Linked DNA regions of Homo sapiens: region 2 is linked to region 1. Evidence: promoter capture Hi-C in 16 types of primary human blood cells and fetal thymus (Javierre and others, 2016). All regions are on one chromosome and are shown on one strand. Each heading gives the region's core, a stretch centred on a gene start or on the middle of the fragment in contact. The rest is flanking DNA. Distances are from core to core; before and after follow the strand shown. Region 1 holds the start of ICE1 (interactor of little elongation complex ELL subunit 1). Region 2 has its middle 16 kb from the start of ADAMTS16-DT.

Evidence for each region. Contacts are between HindIII fragments. The CHiCAGO score rates a contact against its expected background, and 5 or more counts as called.
Region 2: a fragment that was not itself captured here is called in contact with the fragment with the promoter of ICE1 in region 1 in 1 of 17 cell types (M2 macrophages); the score reaches 6.3 in M2 macrophages.

The regions. Positions count from the first base shown.
Region 1 is chr5:5,421,427-5,427,801 of GRCh38, forward strand. It overlaps ICE1 (interactor of little elongation complex ELL subunit 1), which reads left to right and starts at 1,251. Exons shown (of 19, transcript NM_015325.3): 1 at 1,251-1,573. The coding sequence starts at 1,490. LOC101929200 (a long non-coding RNA gene) reads right to left here and starts at 703. Exons shown (of 6, transcript XR_001742583.3): 1 at 1-703. RefSeq lists enhancers at 1-497, 498-1,008, 874-1,123 and silencers at 1,154-1,483, 1,544-1,683. The HindIII fragment of the contact is 2,607 bases long and covers 1-1,770 here.
Region 2 is chr5:5,121,335-5,127,709 of GRCh38, forward strand. It overlaps the pseudogene RN7SKP73. Among named protein-coding and RNA genes, the nearest start is that of ADAMTS16-DT, 16 kb to the right of the region's middle. The HindIII fragment of the contact is 3,429 bases long and covers 1,098-4,526 here.

The DNA of each region.
Region 1 (6,375 bases), core at 1-2,500:
TCTATCACCGGCAGGTCCTCAGTTAGGTACACGCCTGTCTTGCTTGGGTGTCAACGACAGGAAACTTAGCTATCGCTGGATGTCTGCTTCCGCCACTCCACAGCAGGTGGTATCCAGAGTGTGTAAGCAAGGTCAGGGGTGCGAAATTTGGAGAAGAAAACTCAGAGAAAAATGCAGACTGCTTTTTTTGGAAGGGGTGTTTTCAGTTGCAATTTCCATACTGAGGAGCTAGAAATTGGCTGGTAAGGTCTAGACATTAACTTAACTAAACGTGCATTCCTCCTCTTGAATTTGGACTTTATAAGGAATTTGGATTGTATAACCACACGATGGAAGCTGCGAGAGGCTTCTGAACAAGGTACTGACGGCGACCAGCTGTGATGACTAAAAAGACGATTCTGGTGGTGGTGGATACGGTGGCTGGAGATAAGAAAAACCTCGGTTCAAACGAGATCTGAATTTACCCACTAACTACGACCACGAGGAGTTTATTCCTTTATCTTTCCGTTTTCTCTCTCTCCCGAGAAGTGTCAAAAACAGGATTTGGAGGTGGCAGGATAATGGCCAAAATGGGTAGACAAGGTGGCGAACGATTCAACCAGGCTCTGGGCTTGGCGCATGGTGGGCGGTGGCGCCCACACCTGGGCCTGGGAACCCGCCGCTCGGGCATCACTGGCTGCCGCGGCGACCGGCGAGGACACATGACCGAGGAGCGAAAGGTCAGAAGACAAGGGGACTGTTACAGGAGCAGGGGAGCCGCCACTGGCTGCTAAGGCCGTGCAACTGGCGCCGAAGCGCACGATCTCCGCCCGCCCCGCAGCGCGTCGGGAACTGTAGTCCCTCCCTCTCCTGCTCCCTGGCCCAGGACGGGCTCCGGGACAGCGCCTATCCCTCTAGCTGTAAATCACGCACTTTCCTGTCCTGGACGCCGGGTCCTTCCACTTCTCAGGCGTCTGGAGCTTACGTCACGGGCGGGTCACCGCCCACATAGCGGAGGCCTTTAGGTGTCTATGGAAAGCCTGTCGTACAGCAAGGTGGCAATAAAGGATCGACCCTTAACAGTGGTAGGAATGCACCTTCGATCCTTCTACTCCTATTGGCTGCTCCTCTGTGGGCGTCTCCCCCGCCGCATAGCACAGCTCCTCTCCCGGTGTTGCTCAGGCAGCGCCTTAGGCAGCCCCGCGCCCAGGGGAGGGGCGGGGCGAGCCAGGGCGGGGCGGGGCGAGCCAGGGCGGGGCGGGGCCCTGACTGGACTGCGTCGCGCTCGGGGGCCGCGCCGGGTAGCGTTTCTTTTTAGTGCCTGAGGCAGCTCTGGCTCGGAGAGCCTTTTGCTAGCCCCACGGGGACCTCTGTGCACGGATGGACCCGCCCGGACCTGGCGGGAAGCGGCCTGGCAGGCGGCGGCCCCGGCGGCATCAGCAGAGACAGGACGGGGCCGACGCCGCGGGCCCCTGAGGCGTGCGTGCCCACCGGGCCCGGCGGCGGCACCATGATGCCGGGCGAGACCCATTCGGCGGCGCCCGGGACGGCGGCGGACCTGTCGCGATGTCAGGGCTGCGCCTCTCTGCAGCAGGTGCAGCACCTCCCGGGGCCCCGGGCGCGGGGGGGGACTCGGCTCGGCCGGCCGGGAGCGCAGGGATGTGGGGTCCGGCCGCGCGGGCTGTGCCTCAGTGCGCTGCTCTCCCTTCCCAACCGTAGCTCTTGCTCGCTCGTCTCTCTGCTCTCTTTTTCCTACATGAGTTTTGGGGACGGCTTTCTTTGCTTTATTTAAGCTTGAAACCCAGAGTTCATTGACTGGAATGCGCTGGTGTAACGGTGGGGGTGGAGTAAGCGAGGTTTGGAGGGCCCCCCACCTTCCCTACCCGGCCTCGGAGCTCCCTAGGGCAGACTCCGTAGGTCAGTGAGGGACAGGTGAAACGCCGAGGGCAGTTATCTCCCTGAGGATAACGCTTTGGTCTTCTGGCCCATCCTGAGTATTTGTTGTTTGGAGGCAGAATCTTACGTGACATGTGGGTTGTCTGAGTCTTAGACTCGAAGAGTCTAGGGAGGCGTTTCAGCTTATAGCAGATGTGCCATCCCGAGGCTAATTTTTTAAAAAGCAAGCCAAGTAATTGGTCAAGTAGCTTGTCAGTTGTTTGATAAAAGTAGTTTATGAAAGGCATGCAGAGACTGGAGGTTTCTAACAGCGGCGTGGGCTCTTCTTTAGAGTGACATAAGGGAGAATTGCTAGAGTATGGCTCCAGATCTTATGGGGTGGTACTTGGGCAATAGTGCCCCTCATTTCCCACGACTCTCCTAGCTGCCTGATGTCGGGGGTCTCTTTTAACTTCCTACTATCGCGGTTTCAGTGATAAAACGGAACTCACCAGCACCTCATTACCTACTCTGCCTAGTGTTCTAGGAACTACAGACATTGTGGTGAACAAAATAGGATCTCTCATAAGTAAGATGCATATGTGTGAATAAGGCCTCAGAAGATTTTAGGTGTTAGAAAATAAAGGAGGATGTTGGAATATTGGTCTTGTCTCTTAGCTAGAGTAGTCAGGTAGGGAATTTTTGAGTCAGTAACTTTCAGATATTTGAATAATGGGAAGGATCGGGCTGTCAGAAGAGATGTGGGAAGAGCTTCCTGGATAGAGGGATTAACAGGTGGAAAGGTTCCTTTGGTGAGAAGGAGCAGGGTGTCTTTGATGAGCAGAACATGGTATGGTTGGCATGAGCATAGTGCACACGGAAGATGGTTGATGAGACCAGACGGGAGTGCAGGCTAGGTAGGCCATGCCGAGAAACTTGGTTTGCATTTTAAGTGCAATATCTGTGAACTGATTGCAAACATTTTAAGTGTTGAAGGAAGGGGAGGAAGGAAATGTGCTGCTTTTGTGAGTAGAAGGAGAACTAACAGATCATTGCCTTCACTGAGCTGCATTGTGTAGGTATCTTATAACGCCCCCCCGCCCCCGCCACCACCACCCCAGGAACGTGATTGGAGTTCTCCCGAATCTTTAATACATTGTATTTATTATTCGAGCCAATTCACTCAACAAACATTTATTGATCACCTGCCGTATTTTAGACACTGCAATTATGGCATTAGGGGAGAAAAAGACAAAAATTCTTGATCTCTTGGAGCTTCCGTTCTAGGAGGGTGGCAGGATAAATGAAACAAATGAGTTATGTTAGAGGGTAATGAAAACGTTGTTGATGAATTGAACAGAGATGGGGAGGGAATGAATGGGTGAGGACTAGGCCAGTGGCTGTTGGAATTTAAGTAGGGAGTCCTGGAACGTTTATATTGGAGCAAAGGTGAGAGAATAATAAGCTCTGTAGAAATCTTGGAAGAAAAGTCTCCCATACAGTGGAAACATCAGATGTGAAGAACTGTAGCAGGAGCTGGCTTGGTGTGCTTGGGAAGAGCAAGAAGGCCAGTGAAGCTGGAGCGGAGTGAATGCTGGGAGTCAGGAAGGTAGGAGGAGGGCCTGATTGTGTGGGCTCCTGTAGACCATTGTTGGGGTTTGGGCGATGGAAATGGTGAGTCATTGGAGGCTTTTGTGCAGAAGAACTACTGATGTGAACTGTGCTTTTCAGTCATGGATCTGTTATGGTTAAATTTAGCAACTGTATTCTTCTGGTTGCTTAGGCCAGAAACTAGATGGCATCCTTGGTGCAGCTCTTTTTTTCTCATAACCTGTATCCAGTTTATCAGATTGTGTCCGCTCTGCCTTCATTATTCACCCACTTTTCAACATCTCCACTGCTTCCACCGTGGTGTGAACTACTCTAATGTATGGCCTAGAAATTGAATCTCCTTCCTTCTACCCTTGCCACATTTCCTGCTGTGGGTTCTCAAAACATCAATAAGAGTAATCCTAGATCCAGAGGTCTGCAAACTTTTTCTGTAAGGAGCAAGATCACAAGTATTTAGGCTTTGGGGACTTGCTCAGAACTGCTCAGCTCTGCCATTTTCATGTGAAAGCAGCTGTAGACAATTCACAAAGAAATGAGTATGCCTGTGTTCCATTGAAACATTATAAACACTGGAGTAGGGCCTTAGTTTACAGAGTTCTTCTCTAGGTCAGGACACTATTGCATTTGGATTTTCTGTGGCCTGGAATTGGATTACCTTTTTAGGGGAAAGTTACGAGTAGAGTCTCTGGAGGAATTCTGTAGTTGTGCAAAGTGAGTCTAGAAAAATAGGTTCCTGGCAGTTTATAGAGAACCTTGAATGGTAACCATCATAAATTCTTGTACTTATTTCTGTCAGTGTTATGGGATGGTGAAGGTTTTTGCATAGTTACGTTAGGACAGTGCTTGTAGTAGAAGTAACGGTGGTATGCAGGATGGATTGAAGGGGGGTGCAACTAGGTATGGTAAATTATTTTACTAATACATAATAGTGATAACAAAAGTCTGAAGTAATTGAAGGTTCCTGGGAAGGGGAATAAAGAAGAAAAAGGTTCTGAATATGAGACAGTGTAAAGAATGGGCAGGTCTCATGTCAGGAAATGGAAGGTCCCGAGGTTTAAAACTCAAATGACCATGAGAACTGTGGTAGATACAGGAGGAAGAGGAAATCAAGGTGGAAGGGACTGAAGTTGGAATGACATCAGAACTAGGAGTGTTCAGCCATTTTCAGATTTAATGTTTGTGGAACACAGTGCTTCCAAGGTGCCCTAATATCCCTCAAGGAAATAGCAGGCCAGGTTAGATGTGCACTGTGTTCAGTGTAAGAATTTTATCTGGGCTGGGAGCGGTGGCTCATGCCTGTAATCCCAACACTTTGGGAGGCCAAGGCAGTGGATCACGAGGTCAGGAGTTCAAGAACAGCTTGGCCAAGATGGTGAAACCCCGTCTCTACGAAAAATACAAAAATTAGCCGGGCATGGTGGCATGCGCCTGTAATCCCAGCTACTCAGGAGGCTGAGGCAGGAGAATTGCTTGAACCTGGGAGGCCGAGGTTGCAGTGAGCCGAGATGGTGCCACCACTGCACTCCAGCCTGGGTGACAGAGCAAGACTCCGTCTCAAAAAAAAAAAAAAAAAGCTTATTTGACAGAAGGGAGGTGTGAGGATAGGAAAATGGGGCATTATGTTCTGTCACTTAAAGGAATCTTTGAAACCATGAGGCCAATTCATGGGATTACATGCTATCATTAGAGTCAGTGACGGAAAACCAACTAGCTGATGTGTGGCCTTTGATGAAGGGGAACATGGAATGGTGAGGAAAGGAGAAACAGATAAAGTATGTTAGAGGGTTAAACAGGGAGTGCGTTCCAGAGGGAATCAAGAGTTCCAGAGGGAACCAAGATCGGAAAGAATGAGAATTAAGGAAAAGCAATTCTTTTGGTCAATTAGTAGATAACCGCTTTTTGGAAATAATTTTCGCATGTATTATAACTACGTGAAGTTCCATATTTCAATTAAACTTTCGTGTGAGAGAGAAACTAAAGAGGTACAGAGAGAAGATATTCTGTGCTATAGTTTTAACTTTTTGATCATGCAGAGAATTTACAAGTGTAACATAGGAGTCAGTCTTTCCAATGGTAGGCAACCATATTGGTGTTGTGACTTCATTCTGAACTGTAATGTTAGGCTAACTTGCCTCTCTGTCTTGAATAGTGGTTTGCTTGCACTGAAAATCTTCCTTTCATTTCTTAATCCTCCCTGTCCTTTTTTTCTTTAGTTGTTGAAGAGATAACAGTACCTTTGCAGAGATCATTATTTGATTCAGAAGTGTGCAGATTGACTACATTTTCTGTGTCTTTTGCTCGTAGTCTCACAAATCACTTCATATCTGTTTTGTTACGCTCATTGATTACAGTAGTTCATTGCTGATCCATAGCCCAATGCCCAAAGTTCTGGGTTGCAGAACTTTGGCAGTCAGATATAACAGTGTGGGTCCTCACTCTAGTCATATTATGTATTATGTATGGTTAAGTAAAGTCTTAAGTTGTGTGTGTTTAAGTCAAGCTAGTGAAGCTGACATAGTCTCTTTATTCTGATGAAGGAGAGGCCCATATTTGCTGACTTCACTGCAGTGCAAAACAGTTGGATTCTCCTGGGGATCCAGATGAGAGTTTGAAACACATGATTATATTGTTCATCTCATGTATCTAGATTAGATTCAGTGAGTTTGATGTATGGTTGTCCTTGGAACAGATTTGAGCCTGTCCATAAACTTGTGCTGGACTCCCATTGATAATCGCTAGTGATTTAAGTGTCATCGTTTGGAACTTGAAACATTTTATTCCAGACCTATTGATTTAGAAATGGTTCTTTTACAAGGAATGCTTACAAAATTGTAATTCATTCATTTGCCAAACACATTTATTGAGCTTCGATGTATATATGATGCTATCCTGTGTTTCAGAATACAATGA
Region 2 (6,375 bases), core at 1,562-4,061, 300 kb before region 1:
CCCTTGTTTAGTTCCTTCCCTGGAACCTGATTAACCCTTCTTCACTTCTAGTCATCCCATCCTAAAGAATGAAAAAGGTGCAGCCCAAATAATTTAAAAATATGTCGGCATACATTGAATTGAAAGGCTTAAACATCTCCTTGAAGTCTGGCTATTTGGTAAAGATAAATAAATAAATAAATAAATAAATAAAGGCTTAAACTTTCTTCATGTCCTAAAATATAAAGGTCTAAATTCTCTTCTACTCTGTGCTGACTGCTGAGGGAAGGAATGAGAGAAGGGGTACAGAGATTGAATGTCCATGGTTAATAAGCATTCCACTGGCAATTGAGGGCTTTCTATGCCAGCCACAGTGTTTCTGGGCAGAAAAAATAAGGTCATTCTTTCAACAATTTGCACCACTAAAATACATAGTGAGAGCTCCTACTTTTTGCCTATCATGAAAGCAGAGTTTGAAGTTTTTGAGGACAGGCTGGAGGATATCAGCTCTTCTATTACTGTTCCAGGAAAATAATAGCCATGGATTTTTTTGAATATCATAAAAGGCAAAAAGGAAACTTGTATGTAGACCCATTCCATCATCCAGGCAACTAACAGGTATTCAACCTCACCACGTGCTGGGCACTCTCTGAGTACAAGAGATACAGCAGTGATCAAGACATTCTAGGGGGAATGCAAATGATCAACAGGGCACTGAACAATTATGTTATGTGATTCCAGGCAGTAGAAGAGTGATAAAGAACATAAACTAGAGTGAGGGGATAGGGAGTGATTATCTCCTCTGAGAAAAACACATCAGTATGGTCAAACCATATGACTCAGAAGGGATAGGAAAAAAAGAGAATGACATTTCCCCAGGCCTGTTGTTTTTCACCAAGAATGCTTTTTATACACAGTGATTTTTCAATGTCCAAATTAGTGATTCACAATCAGAGTGTCTGCCCTTGCTAGAGAGATATGTTAAAGGTTTAAGTCAGATAGCATTTGAAAAAGTGTCATCTACAATTCCATTGATTTACTTTGCTTTAATTGTTATATATGCAGTTTTTTACATTCTAAATTACGTTAAAGGAAATTATCAGATATGTACATTATCAAGCTTGATTTTGTTTAAGGATATTTCAGAAACAATAGTCAAATTCATCAGTTCTTTTGAGAGGACAGATAGAAAAAGATAGAGACTGAGACATTTTTATTTTGATTATTAAGATGTGAAAATTAGGCATTGAAATTTCTCATGAGAAATTATTGCTCAGTTATCAGAAGTTAATTAGAGTTTTGTACTCTAGTGATTTTACACACTATTAATTTTGTTCATAAAAGAAACAATACTGTTATTATAAGTACGCTGGTCTTACTCCATAAAATTAAATCGTATGCTTACCAAGTTGGAATTTCATAATTTGGAAACTTGAATTTTTTCATCTCTCGAAGATAGAATGGGACAGCTGAACTAAAATCACTTCACAATGGCGTCTTGATGCTAATTAGCTGTACATATCAAAGTTTTCCACTTGAATCTGTCCCAGGGCATGAAGAACATCATAAACTGTGGTATTTGCAACATCATGGATGATATTCATTATCTCTGAAAATAATCCAGACTTTTCCCATATGCTTTTGCAAAGATTAAGACTGGGTTGTCTTCTCCTATAATTTTTGTGAATCTGATGGGAAGTTTTCCCATTCGTTCAAGGTACTTACAAATGAGATACGATATGGGAAAAATGAATCAGATTTGTCACAACAGATTTGCTGTGCAGTTTGTGGTCTTTGGGATGCAGGAATGCTAAATTCTGTTCAAGAGCTGCAATCTTTATCCTGGAAGGATCACTGGAACTATTTCCCATGTAAATCAACCAGATTTGGAAGCAACATTTAGAGCAAAGAAAATGTTCATGTTGATTTTGAATTTGGTCTTTACTGATCGGATACTGCCAGCTATTTTTTCCCATTTGTTTTATTTTTTAATAATTTGTATTATTTTTCATTTAAATGTATTAAATTTCATTTATATTAAAGTTTTACTAAACTTACATTGCAGTTCCTATGTTCCAGGTATTGTTCTAAGTTCTTTACAAATATTAATCTATTCTATTCTCATAACAGCCTTCTGAGTTGGATTGTATTTTTATCATGCCCACTACACAGATGGAAACATGAAGACTTTTGAAGCTCAAGAAATGCATCCATGCTCATATCCTGTTCTCCCTGCTATGTACTTACCTGAAAAAATATTTTAAATTAATTTAATATTAGTGGAACAATTAATTTAATTTTATATTTCAGTTTTCATTTGCAGTATGTGTGTATTTTAAGAGTATATTGTTAATTTCAATTCTTTACAAAATCTAAGACATTGTTTTGTAATAAACAAATTTAAGCTATTGCGTATAACAGATTAAGTTTTTTTGGATATTCTATTCATCTTATGCCTTCTAATTTTAATTTTTCTATTGCTACAGTTGGCTTTTTTTCTAAGTAGCCAATGTCTATTTACTTCTATAATATATTCTGCTCTTTTTTATCAACAATATATTTCTTTTGACTTTTCAAAAGGATTTTAGTTTATTTCTGATTTTCAGTTATGAATAAAACAGTATTCCCTCATCTGGAAGACAGAATTTCATAGAATTTCACTTCACTTTTCCGCCACTTCTTCCCTTTCTGATCCTTGAAATTATTGTGAACAATATGAAGCGTACCATTTTTATTAACCTCATTTAGCTAAAGATACATATGCATATATAGTTTTTAGAGTAATTGTCTTTGTCATTTTATGGTTTCAACAGTTGTATAAACTCTCAGCTTATCTTTTTTAATGCTAGACACTACTCATTTAATATTATACGTCCTCAATAATGAGCACATAAGTATACAGATCTTTCTAAAGCTGGAAAACAAAGCAAAACTGAGTGTAGGGCTCAAAAAAGTTCATGTTGTTCCAGGCAAAATGAATGGCAAAATGCACAGCCAGACACATCTTGAAAAACACAAGGTCAGAGACACATGAAAATCCTATGAGGATCCAGTCGGAAGAGCAAAAGGGGTTACCAATAAAATAACAAATCCGAACTTGCTTCCAGATTTCTCCTCTGCAAAAGTACGTGTCAGATCACAACATGACATGTCTGAGAGAAAAAAAAGCTGTGGTTTACAATTTCTGTTCCAAGTTGATGTTTTTGGTAATGTAAGGAGCAGATATAAATTGTCAAACATGCACTATTTGTCCCAAGTGTTCCTCACCCATGATAGTTTGACTTCAGTTCAAGATTTTCCCTCCTCTGCCTTGGGAACTCCTCACTCCACGTTGGCCTCCACTCTGTGAGGTACAGTGGTTGACGTGTTCTGGGCTAAATATCTAAATTGTTGATACAAGAGCATGAAGTTCTAAAAAATATGAGCTAAAAGTGAAGGTGAAAAACATATAATGATTTACTCAGTTAATAGAGACTTTTTAGAGACTTTTTTTGTCGTGAAAACTAAATATGCAGAAGCAAACTGTATAAACACAGTGGAGCAAATTAAAAAGGAATCGACACTCAGAAAAATCAAAAAATATACTTTAATGCAAGTTAAGTAATATAGGAAACAAAAGAAGAGAAAGATCAAATTAATGCCAGGAGATAATTTATATACAAAGCAAAGGATGCTCAACAACATACGTAATGGGCTTCCGAATTACAAAGAACAGAATCAGGACTCAAGCAGATGCCAGATACCTGTACTCTACAATGTCATTGATGTGGCTCCAACATCCAGTGACAGGGGTTTTCTTTGCAGGGATTGGGGATGAGGATGGAGGAGGATAGAGAGGAGGTGTGATAAAACACACTGTTATGTTAAATATACATTTAGGTTTTAAGATGAAACCCCAATTTAACAAACATTAAATTGGGGAAAATTAACTTCACAATGGAGGACACATGGACAAGAATGAAGACTTTACTGATCAAAACTGGGGGTAGGCCTGGTGCAGTGGCTTGCGCCTATAATCTCAGTGTTTTGAGAGTCCAAAGCGGCAGGGCTGCTTGAGGCTAGAAATTTGCAACCAGCCTGGGCAACAAGGCAAGGCCCCATCTCTACAGAAAATTGAAAAATCAGTTGAGCATGGTGGCATGCATCTCCCGTCCTAGCTACTTGGGAGGCTGAGGGAAGAGGATTGCTTGAGCCCAGGAGTTTGAGGCTACAGTGAGCTGATTGTGCCACTGCACTCCAGCCTGCACAACAGAGGAAGACCCTTTCTGCAGAAAAAAAAACCAAAAAACTGTGGATGAAAATATTTATAAATGTAGATAGGAAAGACACATATATTTATGTATTTACATTAAATATATTATCATGAATTTGCAACGTGTTTGGAAAAGAGCCCAATTAATAAATATATTCTTAATAAAATATAAAGTGCAAAAATAAAATTATAAGGCACAGTAACCATTCACACAGCCCTCTGTATTTCTTCAAAATATGTGATCAGTGAAACATTGAAACTAACTGTTCAATGTTGTCTTTCCCACTGAGTAATAAGCTTAATGGGGAAGGAACCTCCATGGTGGATTCTCAATAAGTAGATAATTATTCATAATTAAACATGATTAATGAGAGACTAATAAAAAAGTAAGAAACTATTCTAAACTGATTGAAGATCTCAATGAAAGGAACTCTCTTATAGGAGAACATAAACTGAAAAACTGCTTCAAGAAGACGGAGAGGAAGTGAAGGCAATCTGGCTGCAACATGTGTCACCAGGGTGGATTGGGCTGATCTGGCTGGCTAGCTAGATGTCCCCTTCATCCCTCACTGCTCCATGTGCATCTCTCCCAAAGCTGCACACTCAGTCCAAGAGGACAGCCAACCCCAGTAGAAGAGGACTGGTCTTCAGTCAAACCTACGTGAGTAATTATGCTCCCCTGCTAAAACCTCCAAACAAGCTCTTAAGATGATGGAGGAAGGCACAACAGGCCATTAACAATAAAACACATTGAATAGTTAGGCAAAAAATTTCCTCCAAAAAATAAATCAGACTCTAATAATTGTACAAGTGTTTTGTCAAATCATGAAGAAGCAGATAATTTTCACTTGTTTAAAATGTTCCAGAACACAGAAATCATTTGGGAAAATGTCCAGTTAATTTTACAAGTGGCTAAAGCACCAAAAACAAAACGTAAAAAGGGAGGCAAACGTGTTTTAATTGCTTCTTTTTTGCCCCATTGGTGAGGGAGGAATTCCTGCCCTAAGGTTATGGGGAGGGCCAAGTGCATGACACATGGTGCTGGGCAGAGGGGAACGTTTATTAGTCACCTACACCCACAGCCTGGGGAGGAGGACGCTGCACTCCATGGAAGGTCACGTGGGGCTGCACTTGGAACAGACTGAACAACAAGGGCTGTGGAGAAGACTTTGTAGTATCAAGAGGATGAGGTGCCCCTGTTCCCATGGGAGGGTGTGATTGGCCTGTTTGAACGATTCCACGAGATGGCAGAAGACTGAAATCTTCTACTCAGGAATAAGCAGACACTGCTTCATCCCAGTGAAAAGGAAGGTTGTCAATTTTACCAGATGTCAAGACAGCATATAATAGTGACCCTTTTTAGGTCTTACACTACAGTATGTCTAGGGACAACACACAGACACCCCCCAATACACAATTGACAAATATTTCTTATTATTATTTATATAAACATACTCAACAAAATACTCTAAATTTGAATTAATCAGTACACTTTCAATTTAAATTTTAGTTTTATATATTAATCAATATAGTTTAAACATACCAAAATAAAGCAGGATAAATTCATGAATAGCATTGTTCAATTTTTTTAAGTTAGGTAATTACATTAATTAATGGGGCAAAGAAGAATTAAAACTTTTAGAAATTGAAAAAGGAGACACATCCACTCCCCCAACCCATATCAGAGGGATACATTAGAATTACTTAAAAGGTATAAAAAAATCCCCGCCTTCTCATATTTTCTTAATCTCCGGAATGAGAATCATGATGGAGATTTGGGTTTGTTAAAGAAGAAAACTAATCCAGAGAGATTATGTTAAACATTCAATATTCCTTACCACTAGTACTTCTTAGCAAACTAGAAAAGAACTCTTTTTAGCATCATAAAACAAATCTACTGGAAAACAAGGGCTAATACCATCCTTAGGAACAGAATGCAAGAGCCATTCCCACTACAGTTAGGAATAAGACAGCTGTGCTCCTGATCACCAGTATTTCGCTGTCTCTGGAAACTCTGTCCATGAGCTAAAGTAGGGGAAAAACTAAGGTGTAAATACCAGAAAAAAAAAATAGACAATTATTTGAGATAATGTAATTTCATCTTTTTGGAAAAAGCAAGCAAATGAATTAAAAGTTTAGTAGAC